Linked DNA regions of Homo sapiens: region 2 is linked to region 1. Evidence: promoter capture Hi-C in 16 types of primary human blood cells and fetal thymus (Javierre and others, 2016). All regions are on one chromosome and are shown on one strand. The core of a region is centred on a gene start or on the middle of the fragment in contact, and the rest is flanking DNA. Distances in the headings are between cores, read along the strand shown.

Region 1 (4,298 bases), core at 1-2,500:
GCCCCGCCCGCTTTCCCAGCACGAGCCCTTTCTTTGATGTCCACCGTGCACATGCGCATTCAGCAGCTGGCTCTTCTCAGTGCTGGCCCTTCTCAACACGCCCCTTTCTAGCGAAACATAGTGCGCATGCGCAATGGTCGTGGTCTCAGTCTGGCACTCTGCCCCAACACACGCCCCTCTCCAGGTCCGCAGTACCATTCGGTCCCGCCCCCTGCCCAACAAGCCTTCCTCCAAAATTGTCGCAGTGTCTGGTGGACCCGGCCCCTCCCCTACTCACGCCCTACAGAGTCCAGTGTCTCTTGGCCCCGCCCTTCTTCCTAACACGCCCCCCTCCAAACAGGCGCATCTTGGTTCCGCCCCTTCCCTATTACACCCCCTCCTCAAATAAATACTGAGCTAGTGATTCCATCTTGGGCCCGGCCAAACCGGGTCCAGTCCCCTCCCTTCCCAGCCGGATGGATCCGGTACGATCCGGTCCTTAAGGCAGGTTTTCTCCAGATCCCAGAGGGTGGGGCCGACCCCTAGCGGGGCTCTCATCCAAAAGCCGACCCGGCTGCTCACCTCGTCCTCCTACAATTCCCGAGTGCGTCCACTCACTCCAAGCCCCTCCGAAACTCGGAGACTGCCCTCCCCTCTCTAGGCCGGAAGTGGTCCCGCCCCTTTCCGCCTCCCTAGGGGGCCTCCGTCCCAGCCTGTCTGCCCCTCCCCCGCTCCCTGCTCCTCATTCCTTATGCCCCCCTCCGTATTCCCTTAGCCTGGCTCCCTACTCCCTATTCCTACCTCACATTTCCTATTTACTCCAGAATTCCTTCTTCCCATTTCTTACATCCTCCTCCGTGTTACGTTTGCACACCCTGCCCCTCAGTATTCCTTAATCCCTCTCTGCATCCCCGATTCTCTTCTCTGGATCTTCACTCCCCCTCAGTGTTCCCCTCCCTCCTTGTATTCCTCGTCCCCCTCCCAACATTCCTGGTTCCCCGTTTTTCTCCCCTCCTCCCTCCGCTAGTCTCTGCTCCCAGTCTGTACAGCCTACTACTTTCTCAGTCGTCCTCATTGCCTACACCCCACTCCAGGTCACCTCTGCTTCAGCTGCAGTGGTGCAGTAAGAATTGCTCATCTGCCTGGCTATGGGTTCGAGGGGTCTGGAACCACTGTCTGACCTCCATAAAACCCCAATATCAACGCCCCTCACCTTGTCCTCCAGCGAGTTCGGGATGCGTCTGCCTTCTCTAAGTCCCTCTCGAAGTCTCAGCCTCCTGGACTAGAGCTGCAGACAGCCCAACCCAGCCCAGCCCCTTTCCGCAGCCCCCTGCCACCCCCCCTCGCCTTCCTCGGGGGTGGGGCAATGGGGCCCCGCTCAGGGCTGTCTGACGCCAAAGCCCATGTTTATGCCACTGTACCAGGCTCAGTCTGAAGCTCTTCCAACTCAAACCGCCCCCTGAAAGCAAGTCATTCATTGAATTTATTTTTATATCTTCATTTTTTCTTATTACAAAGGTAATATGTTGTTCTTTTGTTGTTGTTGTAAAAATTCAAACAATGCAGTAATATATAACACACCAATGAAAGGCCACTCATCTCCCAGAAATAACCACTATTAACATTTTGCTATCCAGATTTTTTTTCTATTCGTATACTAATTATTCAGGTTCTCTCTCCGACAAATGGTACACTATACATACCTTCTGTTCTGCGACCTGTTTTTTTCCAGTTATATATAAAACATCTTTCCGTTAGTGCACATTTTTCTAAACAGCTGCATGATCTTTTCTTGCATAGATGTCCCATAATTTATTGAACCAGTCCAGTACACATGTACATTTAGATTGCTTGGTGCACTTTTTGTTATTTATGGTATTTTTTGCTAGCTCAAATGCTACAAAAAAGTCTTCCATTTTGATGCAAAATTTGTCAACTTACTCCTAAAAAGTAAATGGATAACATTCCCGCCAGCAATGTCTCTCCTGTACATGTCACATATTACAAATATTTTTCATGTTATTTATGATAATTTTTGCCAAACAAAAATGTTTAATTATTATGTAGTCAAATATATCCATTTTTCCTTCATCACAACTGGATTCTGCTGCTTGCTTAAAGATGCTTTTCACACTCCTATAACAAACCCCGTTTTTTTTTTCAAGCACTTTTGTGGCTTTATTATTTACATTTAGATGTTTGATCATTTCAAAATTTATTTTCTATACGGATTCAGCTTGATTACTCTTCAAAATCATAGTCTCTTACCTCTACATCATGTGCAAACTAATCCATCTTTTCCCTCTCTGCTTTGAAATGGCACCTCTATCACATAATAAATTCACATAACCAATTGGATCTGTTCAAGAGAACAAAATAAGATGTAAAATAATAGGAAATAGACAAATCATCATTAATTACTGAATATATAAATGCAGACCTGGAAAACCCAAGAGCATCAACTAAAAAGTTATTAGAAACCATAATAAAATTCAGCACAACTGTTAGTTGCAGAAATAATATTCAGTGCCTTTCCACATATAAATGTAATTCAAATGGACACAAGTCTTCTGCTTTATGTGGTCACCTTTTACTATGTAAATAACATATAATGAATCCCTGTGTTCCATGGATAATTCAAGATAGACAAACACACAAATTTCTTGCATATTCAAGGCAGGCTTCTGTTTTCCTGTCTTTTCTCTTTCTCTGAATTATTGCTTTCTCCAAGTGTGTGATATCAGTTCACCATGTTCTTGCCTCCTAGATTTTCTCCCTTATCCACACTAGACATAGCCCCTCCTTTTCTTCTACTTCTGGCATCTCAAATTCCCCACCCCTTCCAAATCATGGCAAGTTGGCAAGTTTAGAATGCCAAGATGAGGACTTTGGTGTTGATCCTGAGAGCACCCAGGAGTTACTAAAGAATTCTAGGCAAGGATACAGCATAGGTTTGTGTTTTAGAAAGAACACCTAGCTGCTATATGGAGTGTGGATTAGGTGTTGTCTTGGAAACAGGGAGAGTGCTTATGACTTTTGTAGTCATCTAGGTAAGCAATGATTGTGCTTTGGCCTAGAGTGGTGGCAGATAGTGAGAAGTGATTGAATCGAGGAGATAGTAAAGAAGTAAAAAGTAACTGGACTTGAGTAACTGGATTGTGAAGAGAAGGGCAAGGAGGAGGGGAGTGTCAAAGGGAACTCTTGGCGATCTGATTTGAGAGATTGTGTGAATGGTAACCCCTTTCACTGAGATCAGGAATACTGAAGGAAGAGCGGGTTTGAGGAGCAGGTTAGACAAGAACTGAACATTGCTTTTGAGGCACCTGTGGCATGTCCAGGTGGAAATGTACCACAGGCAGTTGAATATACATATCTGAAGCTCAGAGAAGTGGTCTAGGCTGAGGTTATAGATCTAGGAGTCATCAGTACATAAATAGTTCTTGAATTCCTGAGAAAGGGTAACAGCACCCCGGTGAATGCGTAGTGCTAGAAGAGACATGGGCCCACGGAAGAGCCCTGCAGTCCAACAGCATCTTTGGTATAGGTGGAGGAAAAGAAACTCATGAAAGAGGCTGATAAGGAGTGACCAAAGAGGCAGAGAGAAAAACAGGAGAGGGCCGGGCATGGTGGCTCACACCTGTAATCCCAGCACTTTGGGAGGCTGAGGTGGGCAGATCACCTGAGGTCAGGAGTTCAGGACCAGCCTGGTCAACACGGTGAAACCCCATCTCTACTAAAAATACAAAAATTTAGCTGGGTGTGGTGGACCACACCTGTAGTCTCAGCTACTCGGGAAGCTGAGGCAGGAGAATCGCTTGAACCTGGGAGATAGAGGTTACAGTGAGCCGAGATTGTGCCGCTGCACTCCAGCCTGGGTGATAGAGTGAGACACCATCAAAAAAAACAAACAAACAAACACAAAAAAAAAAACCGGAGAAAGGAGTGTCACAAAAGTAAGGGAAGAGATTGTTTCAAAAGGAGGGAGGAGTCAAGGTCAATAGTGATGAATGGTGCCAAGAATCAAGAAAAGTAAGACCTGAAAAAATGTCTGGGGATTTTGACGATCAAGTGGTGGTCTCTGGTGACCTTGGAAGGAATAGTTTCAGTGCACATGTTTGTGGCATAGCTTGCTAATTGCTTACCCTAGTATTCATCCTCCTCTTCTTCCTTAGTAATAAGTCACCTGATTTTTAGCTAGATACATAGCCTCCCAGAATAAAGGCCATGAGGACTAGGGTCACACTCTAAGGATACTGGATTAGTAAACTAAAAAGAACCTGGATCCGTAACAATTTCATGAAGCCAACGTGAACTGCCTA
Region 2 (4,533 bases), core at 542-3,041, 390 kb after region 1:
AGGCGTGGTAGCAGGCACCTGTAGTCCCAGCTACTTGGTAGGCTGAGGCGGGAGAATGGTGTGAACCCGGGAGGCGGAGCCTGCAGTGAGCAGAGATTGAGCCACTGCACTCCAGCCTGGGCGACAGAGCAAGACGCCCTCTCAAAACAAAAACAGAAACAAAAATTAGCTGGGCATGGTGACCTGCGCCTGTAGTCCCAGCTACTCAGGAGGCTGAGGTAGGAGAATCGCTGTAACTGGGAGGCGGAGGTTGCAATGAGCCGAGATTGCACCATTACACTCCAGCCTGGGCAACAAAGCGAGACTCCGTCTCAAAAAATAAAAAAAACAAACAAAAAAAACACCAAAAAAAAGGTTTTTTTCAGGAAATTTAAGGTTCAGGAAGACCAGGTGAGCCAACAAGGAGACCAAAGGCAGGGCAACCAGCTGGGAGCTCTTCTAGAAGTCCTGGCAAAAAGGATGAGAACTGGACTAAGGGGACAGTTAGGAGAGAAAGAGGCACTGCAACATCACGATACCCGCAATTATATGGCCAGCTTTCCAATAGTTTCCCTCACATCCACGGTTTCATTCCATTTGCTCCAAAAACCTTTTATTTGCAGGGAATATTACTCACATGGTACAAATGAAGAAACTATGTCTCAGAAAGGGGAAACGATTTGTCTAAGATTCCTCAGTGAGTCCATGGAGGAACTAGGGCTAGGGCTGAAGAATTCTGTGTGTCCACTAACTGCCAAGCCCAATCTAGCTGCTTGGAACATATATTCGATCATTATGACAAATTAATATCCTCATATTGCACAATTTACACAGAAGCACAACTGCTCCTGGACTCCCTTGAGAGCACAGCCTATTGGCTGCCAACCTTCCTGGGAGCCAAAGCTTTCTGGGGGCTATGGCATCTTTCCATGAGGAGAGAAACCCTCCCCACAATTCCCAGAGTAACCACCCTAACTTCTCCCTTTGGGGAATTGCTTAGGGCCAGAATGAGTCTGAACCCACATGTTTGGTGGATGTTACAGCTGTTCTTAGAGAAGCAATAACACTCCATTCTTCCCAGAGCTAGGACTGAAACTCAGGGCTAAGGATATTCTCAGCATTTCCCTTGTGCATTTGCCTCCCTCCACCCCACTACCACCCTGATCCAAGCCATCATCATCTCTCATCTGCATTGCCAAAACAGCCTTCTACCAGTCTCTTTGATCGAGGCCGCAGACAGTTCTGTGGTTTGTGCATTGCACAAGGACATCTGGCTAAGGGGCCCAGTAGGGGCTGAAATCCAGCCTGTACTCTAGTGCCAAGCCATGAACCCTGGTGTGGGGCTACACCTGCAGGAGGAAGAGGCATCTTTCTCTTTAGACAAGGGCCCTTTCTTTTTTCTTTTTTTTTTTTTTTTTTTTTGAGACGGAGTCTTGCTCTGTCGCCAGGCTGGAGTGCAGTAGCACAATCTTGGCTCACTACAACCTCTGACTCCCTGGTTCAAGCAATTCTTCTGCCTCAGCCTCCCAAGTAGCTGGGATTACAGGTGCGCACCACCACGCCCAGCTAATTTTTTTTTTTTTGTATTTTTAGTAGAGATGGGGTTTCACCATATTGGCCAGGCTGGTCTTGAACTCCTGACTTCGTGATCCGCCCGCCTCAGCCTCCCAAAGGGCTGGGATTACAGGCATGAGCCACTGTGCCCGGTGACAAGGGCCCTTCTTTCCAAGCCAAGTGCCATGGGGCTATGTCCACCCAGAGGAAGCACCTTTTCAAAGTCACACAATGATAGACAAACAGCACTTAAAGCAACCCTGTTCCCACTTCCACCTTTGCCCCCTATAGTTTAGTAGGCAACCAGAGGTGTCCTGTGTAAAGCAAAGTCAAATCCCTCCCCTGTTAAAAATCCTCCTATGGCTCCCACCTCACTCAGAGTCAAAATCAAAGTCCTGGCGGGACTCAGTGGCTCATGCCTGTCACCCCAACACTTTGGGAGGCGGAGGCAAGCGGATCACCTGAGGTCAGGAGTTCGAGACCAGCCTGGCCAACATGGCGAAACCCTGTCTCTACTAAAAAAAAAAAAAAAAAAAAAATTAGCAAGGCATGGTGGTGGGCGCCTGTAATCCCAGCTACTCGGGAGGCTGAGGCAAGAGAATTGCTTGAACCTGGGAGGCAGAGGTTGCAGTGAGCTGAGATCGTGCCACTGCACTCCAGCCTGGATGACAGAGTGAGACTCCATTTCAAAAAAAAAAAAAGAAAAGAAATCAAAGTCCTTATAGTAGTCTATAAGACCACACATGATCTGGCCTCTCAATAACTCTGAACTTTTCTTTTTTCTTTAATGTGTTCCCATCGTTAAGCAATTTCTCCAATATGACTTCCTACCTCCCATTAGCTCTACCCCAGCCACACTGGCCTTGTTTCTGTTTCTTAAACATATTAAACTCATCCCATCTAGGGTTTTTATACTTGCTTTTTCTTTTGCCTGGAATTATTTTCCTCTAGATATCCACAGCACTGATTCCTTATGCTTCAGGTCTCAGCTCAAATGTCATCTCTTTAAATAGGCCTTCCCCATCTACTTTATTTAATGCTGTCTTCCCCACTCCACCCCCAATGTACCACTCTATTACTTTTTCATGTTTTATTTTCTTCATATAACTTATTACTCTCTGAATGTGTTTATTTATTATCTGTCTTGCCCACTGGAATGTAAGCTTATGAGAGCTGAGAACATGTCTGTCTTGTACAGTATTGTATCACAGCATCTAGAACAGTGCCTGACCCAAAGCAGGTACTGAATAAGTTTTTGTTGAATGAATCAATCTATGACTTTTCTCTGATAACCAGAAGTGCAGCCTCGGCTAGGGGTCCCCTATAATAGACTCACACACACTGGGGAATAAAGCTGATACTTAGGGAACAGACTTAGGATATCCTAGGTTCTATGAGGCCCACAATAGAGCCCAGAGCACAAGTTCTTTTGATTCTTTATCTGGAGGAATGGGAAGGAAAAAGTATTTGTGATATCATTGAAATTTCAGGGAACAGTCTTACTTCCAAAATTTCTTCCATCATTGCATCAAAGTCCTAAGAGTGAGCCAAATTTGGGTCAAGTGCCCATACCATGTCTATACCAGGGATCAGGTAAAGAAAAGATCTGGCCCCTTCAGTTTTTGTAATGGGAGCCTGCAGTGTGAAGCAGGTGTTAGGAATTCCCCTCTTGCCAAGACTGCACACAGTGGAAAGTATGAAATTGGATAGCCCCCAAAAAGAACAACTGTCATGTTTTTAGGCGATGAAGTGGGAGCCTCAGTCTGAAGCAACCACTTGACAATTTCCATGAGGAAGTGGAAGGGGGGATGTTTAAAGGTATTGGCTGGTATGGCCATCCTTGCAGGAAATGCAAAGCCAAAGCCACACTGAGTGTTAAAACTGGTCAAGTAGTATATACATTTATTTACTTATGTTTTTACTTAAATACCTAATAAAATGTAAAGTTAAGTAATATTTATGTCCTTTTGTGGGAAGCAAGGAGGCTATAGAGTCCATCTCCCACCAAGTTGAAGATGAATCTCTTCTGGGGGAATTTTTCTTTAAAGCTTTTTCAGTTAAAAAATCATTTAGGCCAGTCGCAGTGGCTCACGCCTGTAATCCTAGCACTTTGGGAGGCCAAGGCGGGAGGATCATGGGGTCAGGAGTTCGAGACGACGTTGGCCAACATGGTGAAACCCCGTCTCTACTAAAAATACAAAAATTAGCTGGGCGTGGTGGCGCACGCCTGTAATCCCAGCTACTCGGGAGGCTGAGGCAGGAGAATCGCTTGAACCCGGGAAGCAGAGGTTACAGTGAGCCAAGATCACACCACTGCACTCCAGCCTGGGCGACAGAGTGAGACTTCATCTCAAAAAAAAAAAAATCCTTTAAAATTGTTTAGAATCCTGTCCGGGCACGGTGGCTTACGCCTGTAATCCCAGCACTTTGGGAGGCTGAGGCGGGTGGATCATGAGGTCAGGAGATCGACACCATCCTGGCTAACACGGTGAAACCCTGTTTCTACTAAAAATAAAAAAAAATTAGCCAGGCATGGTGGCAGGCGCCTGTAGTCCCAGCTACTCCGGAGGCTGAGGCAGGAGAATGGCGTGAACCCGGGAGATGGAGCTTGCAGTGAGCCGAGATCTTCCCACTGCACTCCAGCCTGGGCAATAGAGGGAGACTCCGTCTCAAAAAAAAAAAAAAAATTAAAAAAAATTGTTTAAAATCCTGAATCTCTTTGGGCAGAGCGCTTTAAAAACAATAAAAATGAAAGTTTTTTTTTCTTTTTTGAGATAGGGTCTGGCTCCGTCACTCAGTCTGGAGTGCAGTGGCGCCATCTTGGCTCATTGCAACCTCTGCCTCCCAGGTTGAAGCCATCCTCCCACCTCAGCCTCCTGCGTAGCTGAGGGACCACAGGCTCGTGCCACCACACCCAGCTAATATTTGAATTTTTTGTAGAGATGGGGTTTTGCCCTGTTGCCAAGGCTGGTCTTGAACTCCTGAGCTCAAGCAATCTGC

What was found. The method cuts DNA at HindIII sites, captures the fragments that hold promoters and counts their contacts. A CHiCAGO score of 5 or more calls a contact.
Region 2: a contact is called between a fragment that was not itself captured here and the fragment with the promoter of MAGED2 in region 1, in 1 of 17 cell types (activated CD4 T cells). The highest score is 5.5, in activated CD4 T cells.

Annotation. Positions count from the first base shown.
Region 1 is chrX:54,804,697-54,808,994 of GRCh38, reverse strand. It overlaps MAGED2 (MAGE family member D2), which reads right to left and starts at 1,250. Exons shown (of 13, transcript NM_177433.3): 1 at 1,193-1,250. The HindIII fragment of the contact is 6,434 bases long and covers 1-4,298 here.
Region 2 is chrX:54,410,628-54,415,160 of GRCh38, reverse strand. No RefSeq gene overlaps it. Among named protein-coding and RNA genes, the nearest start is that of TSR2, 28 kb to the left of the region's middle. The HindIII fragment of the contact is 1,814 bases long and covers 885-2,698 here.